Linked DNA regions of Homo sapiens: all the other regions are linked to region 2. Evidence: promoter capture Hi-C in 16 types of primary human blood cells and fetal thymus (Javierre and others, 2016). All regions are on one chromosome and are shown on one strand. Each heading gives the region's core, a stretch centred on a gene start or on the middle of the fragment in contact. The rest is flanking DNA. Distances are from core to core; before and after follow the strand shown. Region 1 has its middle 14 kb from the start of CENPF. Region 2 holds the start of KCTD3 (potassium channel tetramerization domain containing 3). Region 3 overlaps CENPF (centromere protein F). Region 4 overlaps CENPF (centromere protein F). Region 5 has its middle 64 kb from the start of CENPF.

Region 1 (2,700 bases), core at 152-2,651, 980 kb after region 2:
TAACAGAAAACGTGGCATTTTGAGAAGAGAGGTGGAAAAATATAAAAGAAAAGCAAAATTGTTAAAGATAAAACATACAATGGCCGAATTAAAAATTCACTGGACAGCCACCAGGTGGGAGGATTACTTGAGCCTAGGAGGTCAAGGCTGCAGTAAGCTGGGATCACACCACTGCACTCCAGCCTGGGCGACAGAGTAAGACTGTCTTCAAAAAAAAGGAATTCCTCCACACCTGCTCTTTTTACTACTTCCCCATCTCCGTAAATGATATCCTCGTTCACACAGCTAACTAAGTTTGAAACTTTAGAATCAACCCCCTACTCCTTTCGTATATCCTATCAATTATATCTCCCACAAATACACAAATATTCCCCATCTCTCCCATGTTCTCCATTCTCACTGCCCAGTACCTTGTCCTGACTACTGTCAATTCTTGCCTTTATTACTCAACAGCCTTCTGGGTGGTCTCATGGCAGAGTTTTCCTTGCTAATGTTAGGGCCTTGATATGGATGGGGTAGAATTGTGAGATCTGAGGTGAGAATACGTCAGTGGGTCCACCTAAGGCTTATCCTTGCATGATCACTTTCCTAGTCACTTCTCTCCTGCGCCCACTTCCACCTCCCCCAATTGTCTCCACACCTCTTCCTACTCTGGGAGGGAATGGTTTCCTCACCAAAAGAGTTGCAGGACCTGGGTAATAAGTACAAGCAGGAATCAGGACATGCTTGAAAGTTGATCTTGAGGAGGCTGGGAGGAGAGGGAGTACAGAATATAAGGTTGGACAGGCTAGGGCTTACTGACATGGGAGCACTCTCGTGATTTGGGATTTAACGTTCTGGCAAGAATGTTAAATTCTGAATGTGCCATTCTGGATGGCTTCTTGAAGTCTGAACGTGATGATGACCTTTAGCAAGTAGGGTTGATATGCTAAAACCATAGTTACCAGTACTAAGGGTAGGAATAGCAGTCTTTAGGGGCTGGGCATGGTGGCTTATGCCTGTAATCTCAGCACTTTTGGAAGCCAAGGCAGGCAGATCACCTGAGGTCAGGAGTTTGAGACCAGCATGACCAACATGGTGAAACTCCATCTCTACTAAAAATACAAAATTAGCCAAGCATGATGGCACATGCCTGTAATCCCAGCTACTTAGGAGGCTGAGGCAGAAGAATCGCTTGAACCTGGGAGGCTGAGTTTGCTATGAGCCAAAATCCCACCACTGCACTCTAGCGTGTGCGACAAGAGCAAAATTCCATCAAAAAAAAAAAAAAAGCAATCTTCATGAGGTGGGAAAGTTAGACTGGATTTATTACCTAAGATCACCACCAGATTATTATTTCTAGAAGGGACCAAAGGATATTGCCTCCACTAAGACAACAAAGAATGTCTAGAAAGGGGGACACCAACATCTTTAAGCTGTCCAGTGGTGGCTGACCTCTATAGGCCAGGGTTGACAGTAGAAGATGCTGCTATAGAATGGCATGAATAGAAATCTAGAATGGCCTAGGCCAGGGCCAGTGCTTAATAACCTTGTCAATGGCAAGGTGAAAGTAGTTGCTGCAATGGACAGCACAGCTGGAATAGAAATAAAGTCCAGGGATCTGTGGTTATGACTAATAGACTATTATGTTTCTAGGTAAGAGATAGATGGCTAACACACTTGAGTTTTGCTTGATTTCTATAACAAGAAAAACTCACGTATTGGCCCAGCAGAAAGCTGAAAGCAACTACAGTGCAAAATGAAGCAAGCATCCAGCACTTGGCCATATCATCTGGCAGATCTACAATGCTAGAGATACCCATGGCAAATTAAGGCCGACCGTCTGGCATGTCTCAATGAGAGATTCATTGCACAGGCTCCCTAGTATTCTGGAACAAGGTCATGTTTTCTCCACTAGAGAATGACTTATCATTTGAAAAGCAGCTCCTGTTGTGCTACTGGGCCAGCAGACACTGAGCACCTGACCTTGTAACATCAGGTGTATAACCAGAACAGTCCATCACTACCTGAATATTGCCAGATCTACCAAGTCATGGGTTCTAGCGGATGTGGCAGCAAACCATCCTAGGATGAGGCCCAAGCAGGTTGAAAACGCATAAATAACTTAACATAAATAGCAAGCCATAAGTCACCTACTCTGTTTCACAAAGGCTTTCTCTCTCAATACCCATCTATGGCCTTGTGGTGAGTTCCCCAAAAGTAGCCCACCCAAAAAACACCTGATTGTGGTTCACAGATAGGTTGGCTTCATATGTTGGTATGTCTTGAAAATAGGTGGCTGCTCCCTACAACACCACAACAGGGGACTTCAAAGGGCAGAGCTGTGAGCAGAACAGCAGATCATCTACTTCATATGGGGAAAAGGTGGTCCAAGGTTAGAATATATTGCTGGGCAAATAATTTGGCTGATAGGAACAACATTAAATTATTGTAGACATAGAGATTTAAAGAAGAGGATTGTAGATAGACCTTTTAGGAACGGAAAAAGATTGTGGGGGTCTTGCATCTTTTGTCAATACCCACTAGAGAGCATCCACCATAGGTAAGACAGGAAACAACCAGGTGGACAGGACAATTTTTCTGGTGGATTGTCCAGTGAGTGTCCTTCATTACCAAAGCGTTTGCACAACGGTCTCATCATCAGAGCAGCTATGCTATCGGGGCTAGTGGCTATAGATGGGTCGAACAGCATGGACTGCC
Region 2 (2,700 bases), core at 192-2,691:
TTCTAAGACATTAAAATACTTTTAAAATGCTGGTTGAAAATCATATTCTCAAGCACAGAAAAATTAACTGTATTCCAGAGCATTTCCTTGTTTATCTCCTTACCAAGCCTAAAACTCAACTAATCCTTCTTTCAAACAGCTGGCAAACTCCCTTTTCTGAGAGGAGTGACTCATAAGTTATAGGAAATCCACAAAAACTACGATTTTTTCCCCCAACAAACTTAATAACAGGCACAGAAGGGGCGGGGGGGGGGGGGGGCGGAAGGCCAGAAAGAGAACAGACAGAGAAGAGCATTCAGTCTGTTTACTCCAAGGGCGTCACACCGTGCCAATATCCAGAGCTTCCTAAAAGCAAATGTTCAAACTGCAGTTTCTGGACACACTGTCCTAGAAGTTGAACAGATCCTTCAAGCCCATGCACCAAGAAATTCTGAAAATAAATAACTAGGTACTGCAAACCTACTGCACTCCCATCACAGAAATCTTTCAAATTACAAATCCCCTAATTAGGCGCGGAAAAGAACACCGCACTCTTCCCTAAGAAAACCGACACCTCGTTGACCAAAGAGAAAGGAAAGCAAGTTCATCTCCAACATCCAAACCACAAAGCCAGGTTTCTACTAAATAAAGTCCTCAAATACACTCTAATCTGAGATGAGGTAAGGAAGGCTGTGTAATGGTTCTCCTTGCCTGTTGGGAGGGGCAAAGGTTGGCATTCTAGGACAGCAGCTACTCTGCCACATGGGCCTGGTCCTCGGTAATTCCAAGCGTCCCTTCTGCCTCTCCCTTCCCAGAGCAGATGCTTCACCAGCTCCAAAATCCGCCCGACGTTCTTGCCGCCTGGAGGCCCCCACGTTCCCCTCCAGGCTTGGCCTCCCACGCTCGCCCTCGTTCCTGCGACTCTCGGTCCCCGTCGACACCAAAGGAGGAGGCCGCCAAGGCATCCCCGCTGCAAGCCCGCTACCCGCCGACTCACCTGGTCCCCCCTACGTTCAGTTGGACGATCTCGCCGCTGCCGGCCGCCGCCGCGGGGAAGCTGCCGCAGTGCCCTCCCGCCATCTCCGGCGGCTCCGGACGCGCTCGCCGCCCTCCTTCCCCAGCCGGGACCGCCGAGCCCGGGGCTGTAGCCCGAGGCAGCGGCGACGGCTGCAGGGCCAGCGGGGCGGCGGCGGCCGGAGGGCGGGGGGTGCACGGGGCTTCCCCCACCTTCCCGGCGGCCGGGCGGGGCTCGCTAGCTTCTGCCCCTTCCCGGGTCAATCCTGCGGTGCACAAGGGCGGCCCGGCCTCCACCTTTCGCGGCCTCCAGGCCGCCGGGCCGCCCGGGCCTCTTCTCCGTGCTCCGCTGCCACCGACGCCGCCGCAGCCTGCCTGGGAGGAGGGGTCACCGTTCGGGACAAAATACCGCAGCGCTCACGCTTCGCCCGCCACTGCCGCCTAGAATGAGGAGGAGGAGGAGGAAGGAAAGGTCAGGGAGGAGCTTCCCAACGCCGCGGGGCTGGCGCGTAGGGAGGCTAGGGGAATGTGCTCCTGGCCAGCCGCCTGCCCACGCGGGATTCCATTTCGTTCCTCCTCCCCACGCGATCCCAGCCCCTTTCCCTTTTACATTTCAGATTTTCTAAAACGAGGAAGCTGATTCGCAGATTGAGGGCAGATCTGGGCAAACGATCTACGGATCTTTATGACCCACTTTGTCAACATGGATTGGGAAAGGAAAAACTAATCCTAGAGGTAGTAAAAGTTGATGCCTAAATGTAGACAGTGCAAATGCAGGGAACATTTGGAGATTTTAAAACCTTACAGCGTTTACCCCAGAAAACTGCTTACTTTACCCTCTTCAATTTAATCCCCAATCTCCCAAGCAGTTTTTTTGTTTTGTTTTTTGCTTTTGTTTGTTAAGCAGGAAGGAAACCAAAGGACAAAAACCCCTAGACTGTGTAATGCCCAGCAACCTATTTCTGGAATATAGTAAGCACTCAACTAATGTTAGACACACGCAGAAAACACACAATTTTATGCGCTTGTTTATTTATTTGTTTTTGCTTTAAACGGTATCTATTCAAACCCAAAACCTTAGTGGCTATTAAAATATTTTTTAAATCGGAATACTATAATACTTGATGCCCTGCTAACAAAGACTAACAAAGATAGTGCGTTATGTTTCAGAGGTCATTAGTTTGTGGTACTAAATTCTTAACATGAATTGTTTTGTCATAGTTGTATCATAATAATTCAAACTGATAATGTATCTGATGTTAAGTTTTTATTGTCATTGTCATAATTTTTACCAAAAAAATAAAAAATAGCCTCTGGCAAGCATACTAATGTTGTGATATGCTCTATCTAGATTCGACTTGAAAGATGTTAATAGTACATATGGATGTAAGATAAGTATTATTTCTCCCAGTTGATGATAAGCTTAATAATAGCTAATTTGTGTTTATCATATACCCGGTGGTTTAGATATTTTGTCATCTTTCTTCGTCACAACTAATGTTATAATTATTTTTAAAAAAGGAAATTTGGGAATGAAAATGATCAAAAAAACTTGCTCAAAATTACATAGGTAGCAAGTGGGATGGCAGGAATTTCAAGGCAAGCAGCTTGAATTCAAGGCCACTGTTCACCATCCTTACCACTGCATTGTACCTCATTATCTTCACTTTAGACAGGGAAGATGAGTAACAGTTCAGATTAAAGCAG
Region 3 (2,700 bases), core at 11-2,510, 950 kb after region 2:
AAGAAACAAAGAAAGAAAGAAAGCCCTTAGCTCCATTTAGCTCCAAATTTAATCTGAGAAGAGGCAATGTATGAGCTAAAAATGACTTCTCAGCAAATCAAACCACCACATCTGAGCTTACAGTAGGAAACAGCAAGGTCCAATGGAAATGTTCCACTAGTATTTAAAAAGCACCGAGAAATAAGTAAAATTAATATTTAATTTAACTTGCTATTTTCAAGATACTCTCATTTCAACTTGTAATTAATAGGAAAGTTACTAATAAAATATTTTACATTTTTTCATACTAAATTTTCAGAATTTGGCATCCATCATACACTACAGCTCATCTCAATTTGCACCAGCCACATTTGAAGTACATCATAATTGCCACTTGTAGCCAGTGACTACCATATTGGACGTTGCAGGTCTACAGATTAGCAAAGATGTCACAAATCTGCTGATTCGAGGTGAATTTTGAAGAATCTTGCAAAACCAGTGTTTCTTTTCCACTTTAAATTCGTATCTTATTCTCTTTTCCCTATCCTTTCATTTTAAACAAAGTTATTTATTACTTAAACAAAAGTATACCCTGCTATTATTTTCATAAACCATTTTTTCTTCTTCCCCCTAAGAAGAAAAACACAAACACCATCATCAAAAAAGCACTACAAAGCTAAAAGCATCTTCTACTAGGTTGAACTATATGAGATTGCCAATCTCCACAGTTTTAACAAACATTCCAAACGGTTCAACCTCACTTGTTGGAGACCTTCCAGAAACCTAATCAGTGACAACTGATGGAAAAAATAAGTTTCTGCAATGCATTTGGAAGTTAGCAGTGTAAATTTTAAAACCATATTCAGTAGTTTTTGTAGTCTACTAGATAAGAAGAATATTTTAAAACCAAATGTGCTATAAGGATATGGCACGAACTCGGCTCACTGCAACTTCCACCTCCCAGGTTCAAGCGATTCTCCTGCCTCAGCCTCCTGAGTAGCTGAGATTAGAGGTGCCCGCCACTACACCTCGCTAATTTTTGTATTTTTAGTAGAGAGGGGGTTTCACCATGTTGGCCATGCTGGTCTCAAACTCCTGACCTCAGGTAATCCACTTGCCTCGGCCTCCTAAAGTGCTGGGATTACAGGCATGAGCCACCTAGCCCAGCCAAAAGGAAACATTTTTTAAATTATCACACAACCTTGCAGATTGGGCCTGCTTATATTCTGTCTCCAATCTCAACTGGGCCCTCCATGCTATTCCGTCCTTTTATAATTCCCTAGTTCTCCCTCTCATTCTCTACAGCAGCTTTTCCACCCAGAGAAAACACGAGCCATCAGTATGCTTCAACTAATTTCCATCTTTTCGGTAACAGCTGTCGATAGTTTTATTTTAACAAGTACTATCATACTATCAAATAATGCTATGTAACTAGTATTATCATACTATCAATTTGATAGTATGATAGTACTATTTATTATTGTATTACTCAGTGACCAATAGTGTCTGAATCATGGTACAGCTTAATAAACATATACTGAATGAATACATGAGTAATGCAGCAAACATTTGATAAATTTATATCGTACTGAGCTATGCAATGATAAAACCAAATCACTGTTTGTTTGTTTTTAATCTTCCACTCTTTCAAGTTACGGTACAGAGACCGAATCATTACTTATTCTACCAGGAAAAAAAATTGCAAAGTATAATAATTATATTGTTAAAGGAAAAGACAAACGCATCTGATTAATACATACAAATATCATCCCTATAAATACCATCCCAAAATATTACCTTTTAAGTTCCTGTTCCAGTTTTTCTATTTGTTTTTTGCCTGAATTCAGTTGTCCTTCCTGGAAATTCACTTGTGACTCCTTGACTTGAAGTTCATGAGAAATCTTCTGCTTAGTTTTCTCCAGACTTTCACATATTTCCATCAATCTTTGATTCTCCCTTTTCAGGTTTGTACCCTCGGTTTTTTCATTTTCAACCTAATGAGAATTGTTCAGAAGACAATAACTCCCTTATTTTGTGAATTTACCAAGTATTATTGGTAAACCTGAGTCTAACATTGACTACTAAATTCCTGAGATACAGCTGCAATAAGCCATATGAACACAGAAATTTTAGATGATCACACTTTGAAGCCAATAGATAGGAAACTTCTTTGAAGCCATGTAGTATATCATCTTTGGCCAGACACACCCATCCTAGAAAGGGAGTCTTTACTATCCTTTCAAAAATTAAAAAATAGGAAATAAATCCTATAAATCTCCCTTAACAATTCATTTTCAAGTTTGGCTGCTAAAACCAGTTATTGTTAGAAACCAGAAAATTCTCCCACAAGCAAAATCCTTTTAGAAGCAATGACTGTATCACTATTTAGTTGGCTAATAGAGAGGTAATTTTTAAAAAGTACTGTTTAGTTTTCATTTTCTAGACCTGAAAAGGTTGAGGAATACCAAGGTAAAAAGCCCAGTCTAAGAAAGCCACAACCATTTAACTGCAAAATGCTCTAATACTGTCCCCAGATTAGGAGCAGACACCTTTTGCCTTGTTGCTATGCAGTGCAAAAGCAATCTCCAATTCATGGTCCCACATGGAAGTTGAAATGGAACTCAATAGCCCTAAATATTAGCAGGTAAGCAGAAATGAGGACAGAAATGGGGAAAATTAAAAGCAATTAAAATAAAAATGACTCAAAAAAAAAAAAAGAAG
Region 4 (2,700 bases), core at 65-2,564, 920 kb after region 2:
TGGTTTTCCAGCTCACATTTTGTCAAAGACAGTGCCTGTGAGTCCTTTTCCAAACTCTGCAGCTTTTCCTGGAGATGAGTTTTGTCTTTTAACAGCTCACTCACATCAGAGGACAAAGTCTGAAGGAGTTCCGTCTTTTCCTTCACCTCTGCCTCTGCCACCTGAATGCAATGGAGACACTCACTTTGATGAGACTCAAGCTCTTGTGTTTTCTCCTTCATTTTTTCAGACAACTGATCCAGTGCCGTGGTTTTTTTTGACATAGTATCTAATTCTCCACGAAGCTGGTTTCTCTCACTTGTGACCACTGAGAGTTCTTCTTCAAGGCAGACAATAACCTTCTGCTTATTTTCATTGTCTTTTTCTAAACATAGCTTCTCTGTTTGAACTACCTCTAAGTCAGCCTCCAGGTAGAGGGCTTCATGCTCAATGCTAGCTTTCTCCGATCTGATCCTACTCAGCTCATTTTCCACATCAAGAAATCTCTCCTTCCAGCTGTCATTCACCTTGGCCACATTATCTCCAATATCTTCACGTGATGATTTATCTGCATGCATTTCTAAATCAGAATTGAGGCCTTCAGAAGTTTCTACTCTCTGGAGTAACTCCTGGTGATCACAAGAAAAATATTCCAATTTTTCACTTAAATCTGAGTTTTCTTTCTTAAGTTCCCCAACTATTTTTTCCAATTCTATGCATGCTTCAATTTTGGTCATTAGTTGTACCTCCTGTAAATGGAGTTTTGAGTCTAATTCTTTCATTTCATTTAGCAAACTTTCAACTTTTCTGTCACGGTCCTCTATCACATGAAGTAATCTCAAATTCTCATTTGATGTCTCTTTTACCCGCAGTTGAAGATTATGGATATCTTCCTGATTCCCCAGGAAATCCATAGGTACCAAAGCATTAGGACCAGAAAATGACAATTCAGAAATGCATTCTGAAGAGCCCTGGGTTTTATCTTCCCCTGGAGGCTCATAATTGGTATCTGGGGACTGTTCCCCAGAGCACTCTCCTGTGGGTTTCACTGCACCAGTCTCAGTTATTTTCTCAATGTCTAGATTGAGGTCCTGCTGAGCATCTTTATCACAAATCTGATGAACATCATGCTTTGGTGTTCTTTCTGTAGTTTCTGAAGTATGTTCTTTTGATATGTCACAGCTCTCATTTCGGCCTTGAATAGCCTGTAATTATAATACATAACAAGCATGCATTTTATTTTTCAAAAAGAATCAAAATAGAATAGATTTAGTTATTACTTTTTAGAAACTGATGCGTGGCCTCTGCTAAACACATCTCTTAAAGTGGTGAATTTCCCACTACATCTTTCTCTCTTCATTCAAATGTTCAACATACTTATACGTTCAGTAAGTGGCCCCTATGGGCAAGACACTGGGGTTAGGCATTTATCTTGAAGACAAACCCTTCGGCTCAATTACAATTTGTAATGTATTTAAATTTCATATTTTTCCCTTGCTAAGAATATTCAGGTAGCCTAAATATGAAATCTCTTTGTAATTATTAAATAAGAGGCTAACAAAATGCTCAGCTTCCACCTTCAGCATTTATGATACTCTTTAATAAGGCAGTAAAGTTTCATAACCAGATTCCCAGTCCAAGGACTTAATCCCCAATCCAGCACTTACTGTACATTATTGGATAAATTACATATTTGAGCCTCACTTTCCTCTCATCTGTAAACTGGGGATCTGCTGTTGCACCTACACCTGCCATCACCTCACCATGACCTGCCTTCTCTACCTCACAGAGATAGACAGAGGAAATCAAGTGACATGCATACACTATATAGCATTATTAATTAAGCTAGCAGGCTAGAAAGGACAAAGTTACAAGCAATTAAACAAATATGTATTCAATTTTTTAAAAGCCCTTTTAAATGACTTATACCAAATCATATTTTTGTACCACAGTAAATTGTTAGAGAGAAAACTGTTTAGTAATACATAAAGAATCTGCTGTATTTAGTTTCATGACGATAATGCCATAACATCAAAAATAGTCTGAAAAGTGGGAGAGATTAAAAATTTACATATTACCATTTGTAAGTTCTTAATTATTTCAGTATACTTTATTAATGCACAAAGGGTGGAAACACACATTCTAAAGACTTTCTGACTCCATAATATAATTTTCTCCAGACTTTAAAAACATCTTTAGTAATATTCTATATAATGCTATGTAAATCTAATCCCTATAGAAATTTATTCCTCAAATAACGTTTACTCATTTTCCTCAAGTTCTGGTTTGTTTTGAAAATATTTTGGTGTATTTTATTTCCTTGAACCCTAAAAATATTTTAACTTAGGTTTAATGTACATTTCAATTAGACAAACATTTACTGAGTGTCCACTAGTCATGTAAACCGAGAAATGGCATTTAAATCCCAGGTACTTACATCTTCTGTGTCGATGCCAAGCAAAGACCGAGAACTTAAGTCCAGACCTTGTAGCTGGAGTCGTGCTACTTCCAGCTCAAGTGACAGTTGTTCCGTCTGTTTCTTTTCTGCCGCCAACTTGGACTCCATCTCCAGAGTCACGCTTGTCAGCTTCTGTTGCCACTGTTCATTTTCTGACAAATACTGCTTCCTAAGGCAGTCAAGCTCTTGCCTTTCAGAACTTAATAACTGCTCGAGCTCTTGAATTTCCTTATTTTTCATAATCCCTTGACTTTCCATTTTCT
Region 5 (2,700 bases), core at 25-2,524, 900 kb after region 2:
TAGTTTTTCAACTCTTGGTCCCCCCTTCCTCCTTCCCCCATCTAGTAGTCCTCAGTGTCTATTGTTCCCATCTTTATGTCCACATGTACCCAATATTTAGCTCCAACTTATAAGTGAGAACCTGTGGTATTTGGTTTCCTGAGTTAATTTGCTTAGGATAATGGCCTCCAGTTGTATCCATGTTGCTGCAAAGTACATGATTGAATTTTTATTTATGGCATCATAGTGTTCCATGGCGTATATGTAGCACATTTTCTTTATCCAGTCCACTATTGATGGGCACCTAGGTTGATTCCGTATCTTTCCTATTGTGAATAGTGCTGTGATGAACATAGGAGTGCATGTGTCTTTTTGGCAGAATGATTTATTTGCCTTTGGGTATATACCCAGTAATGGGATTGCTGGGTAGAATGGTAGTTCTATTGTATAAGTTCTTTGAGAAATCTCCAAATTGCTTTCCTGAGTGGCTGAATTAATTTGTATTCCCACCATCACTGTATAGGCATTCCCTTTTCACCACAACCTTGCCAGCATGTTAATTTCTGATGTTTTCATAATACCCATTCTGACTGGTGTGAGATGGTGTCTTATTGTGGTTTTGATTTGTATTTCTCTGATGATTAGTGATGTCGAGCAATTTTTCATGTTTGTTGGTCACTTGTATGTCTTCTTTTGAGAAGTGTCTGTTCATGCCCACTTTTTAATAAGGTTTCTTTGTTGAATTGCAAAAAAGACTCTTTGAAAGGATTTACCTCTACATAAATAATGCGTATGCATTCAGTTAGTAGACAACTTTTAGTTGGTAGACAACTTTTAGGAGTTAAAATGTATAGCTAGTCCCATTTTACATTTTTGAAATTAAATATAAGGTAACCCAAATCAGATGCAGACAGCCTAGATATCTTCATTGCCATTGCACATAGAAAGTGGAAAAGCTACTTAATATCATCTGAAAATCTATACTATCAGAATTATTCTGGAAAAGACTGCTTCCAGAGAAGCTACAGGACAAACAAGAGAATGGGTTTTGTATTTGCAAAGCTGAGGTCGAAACTCAACTCTGCTACTTCCTGGGCCAAATACGCTGAGCCTATTTTATCTTCTGTTTGATAAGGATAATCTTCATTTTGCAAGGTTGTGGGGAGACACACAATTATCATTAAGCAAGATCTCCCCAGGCCTATGAGTGAGAAGTTTGACCTCTGTCTCTTACCTCACAAAGGTGGAAGTTTCAGCACACATGAAAATACCTTGTAAAATGTAAGACTTTCCATCCAGTATTTTAAGTAGTTGAGCCAAAGCTAAAGTGAGTAGTAGCATTAGATACATAGCTGGGCTTGCAGGTAGGATGGCAGCTTCAGGTCCTCAGACTTTTCAAATGAGAATAGCCAGGCTCTTCTGAAGCACTCAAGGCTCTATTCTCTCCTCGGTCAGTGAGTTAGCATACAACCCCTTTCCCTTCAAAGAGAAGTCAGCTCACATGAACCGAAGCGGGAGAGCACATAACTCTCAACTACCAAGTGGTAGTTAATTTTAGGTACTTACTGTTCTCTTCAAAAATAATTGTATCCCCCTCCTTAACTACAGAAGAGAAATATGAAAAACATGCTAATGATCAGTGCAACTTCCGACTGTGGTGCAATAAACCTATGGCTTACAAGAACTCATCAGTTTATTTACTATTTAAATTTCTTTCACGACATACTGCCCATAGCCTGAAGGATTTTGGAAGAACTTGGAAATTCTAAAATAACAATTGGTGTTGAGCCATGCTAAGAGAAGTTAGAAACTTCTGCAGACTCAAACCAGTTGGAAAGTGGAAGAGGTCTCCCCTCCTTGAGTTACGGGCCCCCAGGAAGAAGTGCCCTGACTTCTTCCCAGGTGCAAACAAATCTGTGAAAATTTAGTAGTTCCAACAAAATAAATAAACTGGAATCAAATGAGAAAAATCACAAATAAATCTCAAAGAAGGCAAGTGAGAGGGTGAGGGGAGGAGTGTCTCAAGAAATAGAAATCAGGCTACATTTAAATTTTGGTTCTTATTTCTTTCTTACTGAAGATGCAGTCCCCTTAGACTGCCAGCAACTCCCAATAACACAAAGGTCCATTTCAGCTCTTATCCAATATTTACGGTAAAAGAATCATCTCAACCAAGCTCCTCATTGTACAGATGAGAATCTGATTCCCAGATCTCTGAACTTGATTCATTTTCCCATATGATTTGTCAGCGGGGGATCTTACTCATGACTCAACTGGCTTATAAGGTACTTGAAAGTTGGAATGGTAGCATGTTTACTTTCATCCCGTATGCAGCTCAGCTCATAGCAGAACAAGTACTGTCAGCTTGAGGAAAAGAATAATGTCCTGGCTGTCCACTTACAAGATTTTGAACAACTCTCTACAATTATAAAGATGATCGAGACCAGCCTGGCCAGCATGGTGAAACCCCATCTCTACTAAAAATACAAAAAAAACTGCCAGGCATGGTGGCACATGCCTGTAGTCCCAGCCACCTGGGAGGCTGAGGCAGGAGAATGGCTTGAAGCTAGGAAGCAGAGGTTGCAGCGAGCCGAGATCATGCCACTTCACTCCAGCCTGGACGACAGAGCAAGACTCCCTCTCAAATAAAAAAAAACAAAGAACAAAAAAACAAGTATCCAAGTAATAAGAGCAGCAGCTATGGCATACCTAGGAAAATAC

What was found. The method cuts DNA at HindIII sites, captures the fragments that hold promoters and counts their contacts. A CHiCAGO score of 5 or more calls a contact.
Region 1: a fragment that was not itself captured here is called in contact with the fragment with the promoter of KCTD3 in region 2 in 2 of 17 cell types (M0 macrophages and total CD4 T cells); the score reaches 5.7 in M0 macrophages.
Region 3: a contact is called between a fragment that was not itself captured here and the fragment with the promoter of KCTD3 in region 2, in 5 of 17 cell types (M0 macrophages, M2 macrophages, erythroblasts and 2 more). The highest score is 9.2, in M0 macrophages.
Region 4: a fragment that was not itself captured here is called in contact with the fragment with the promoter of KCTD3 in region 2 in 2 of 17 cell types (M0 macrophages and M2 macrophages); the score reaches 7.2 in M0 macrophages.
Region 5: a fragment that was not itself captured here is called in contact with the fragment with the promoter of KCTD3 in region 2 in 1 of 17 cell types (M2 macrophages); the score reaches 6.0 in M2 macrophages.

Annotation. Positions count from the first base shown.
Region 1 is chr1:214,588,318-214,591,017 of GRCh38, reverse strand. No RefSeq gene overlaps it. Among named protein-coding and RNA genes, the nearest start is that of CENPF, 14 kb to the left of the region's middle. The HindIII fragment of the contact is 8,063 bases long and covers 1-2,700 here.
Region 2 is chr1:215,566,045-215,568,744 of GRCh38, reverse strand. KCTD3 (potassium channel tetramerization domain containing 3) reads right to left here and starts at 1,441. Exons shown (of 18, transcript NM_016121.5): 1 at 977-1,441. The coding sequence starts at 1,059. LOC124904599 (a long non-coding RNA gene) reads left to right here and starts at 1,388. Exons shown (of 2, transcript XR_922599.2): 1 at 1,388-1,465; 2 at 1,611-2,318. RefSeq lists an enhancer at 367-1,227 and a silencer at 1,040-1,309. The HindIII fragment of the contact is 6,743 bases long and covers 1-2,417 here.
Region 3 is chr1:214,614,105-214,616,804 of GRCh38, reverse strand. It overlaps CENPF (centromere protein F), which reads right to left. Exons shown (of 20, transcript NM_016343.4): 3 at 1,777-1,973. Among named protein-coding and RNA genes, the nearest start is that of CENPF, 12 kb to the right of the region's middle. RefSeq lists an enhancer at 787-1,986. The HindIII fragment of the contact is 6,674 bases long and covers 1-2,700 here.
Region 4 is chr1:214,643,041-214,645,740 of GRCh38, reverse strand. CENPF (centromere protein F) reads right to left here. Exons shown (of 20, transcript NM_016343.4): 12 at 2,417-2,700; 13 at 1-1,184. Among named protein-coding and RNA genes, the nearest start is that of CENPF, 41 kb to the right of the region's middle. The HindIII fragment of the contact is 6,470 bases long and covers 1-2,700 here.
Region 5 is chr1:214,665,347-214,668,046 of GRCh38, reverse strand. No RefSeq gene overlaps it. Among named protein-coding and RNA genes, the nearest start is that of CENPF, 64 kb to the right of the region's middle. The HindIII fragment of the contact is 5,458 bases long and covers 1-2,700 here.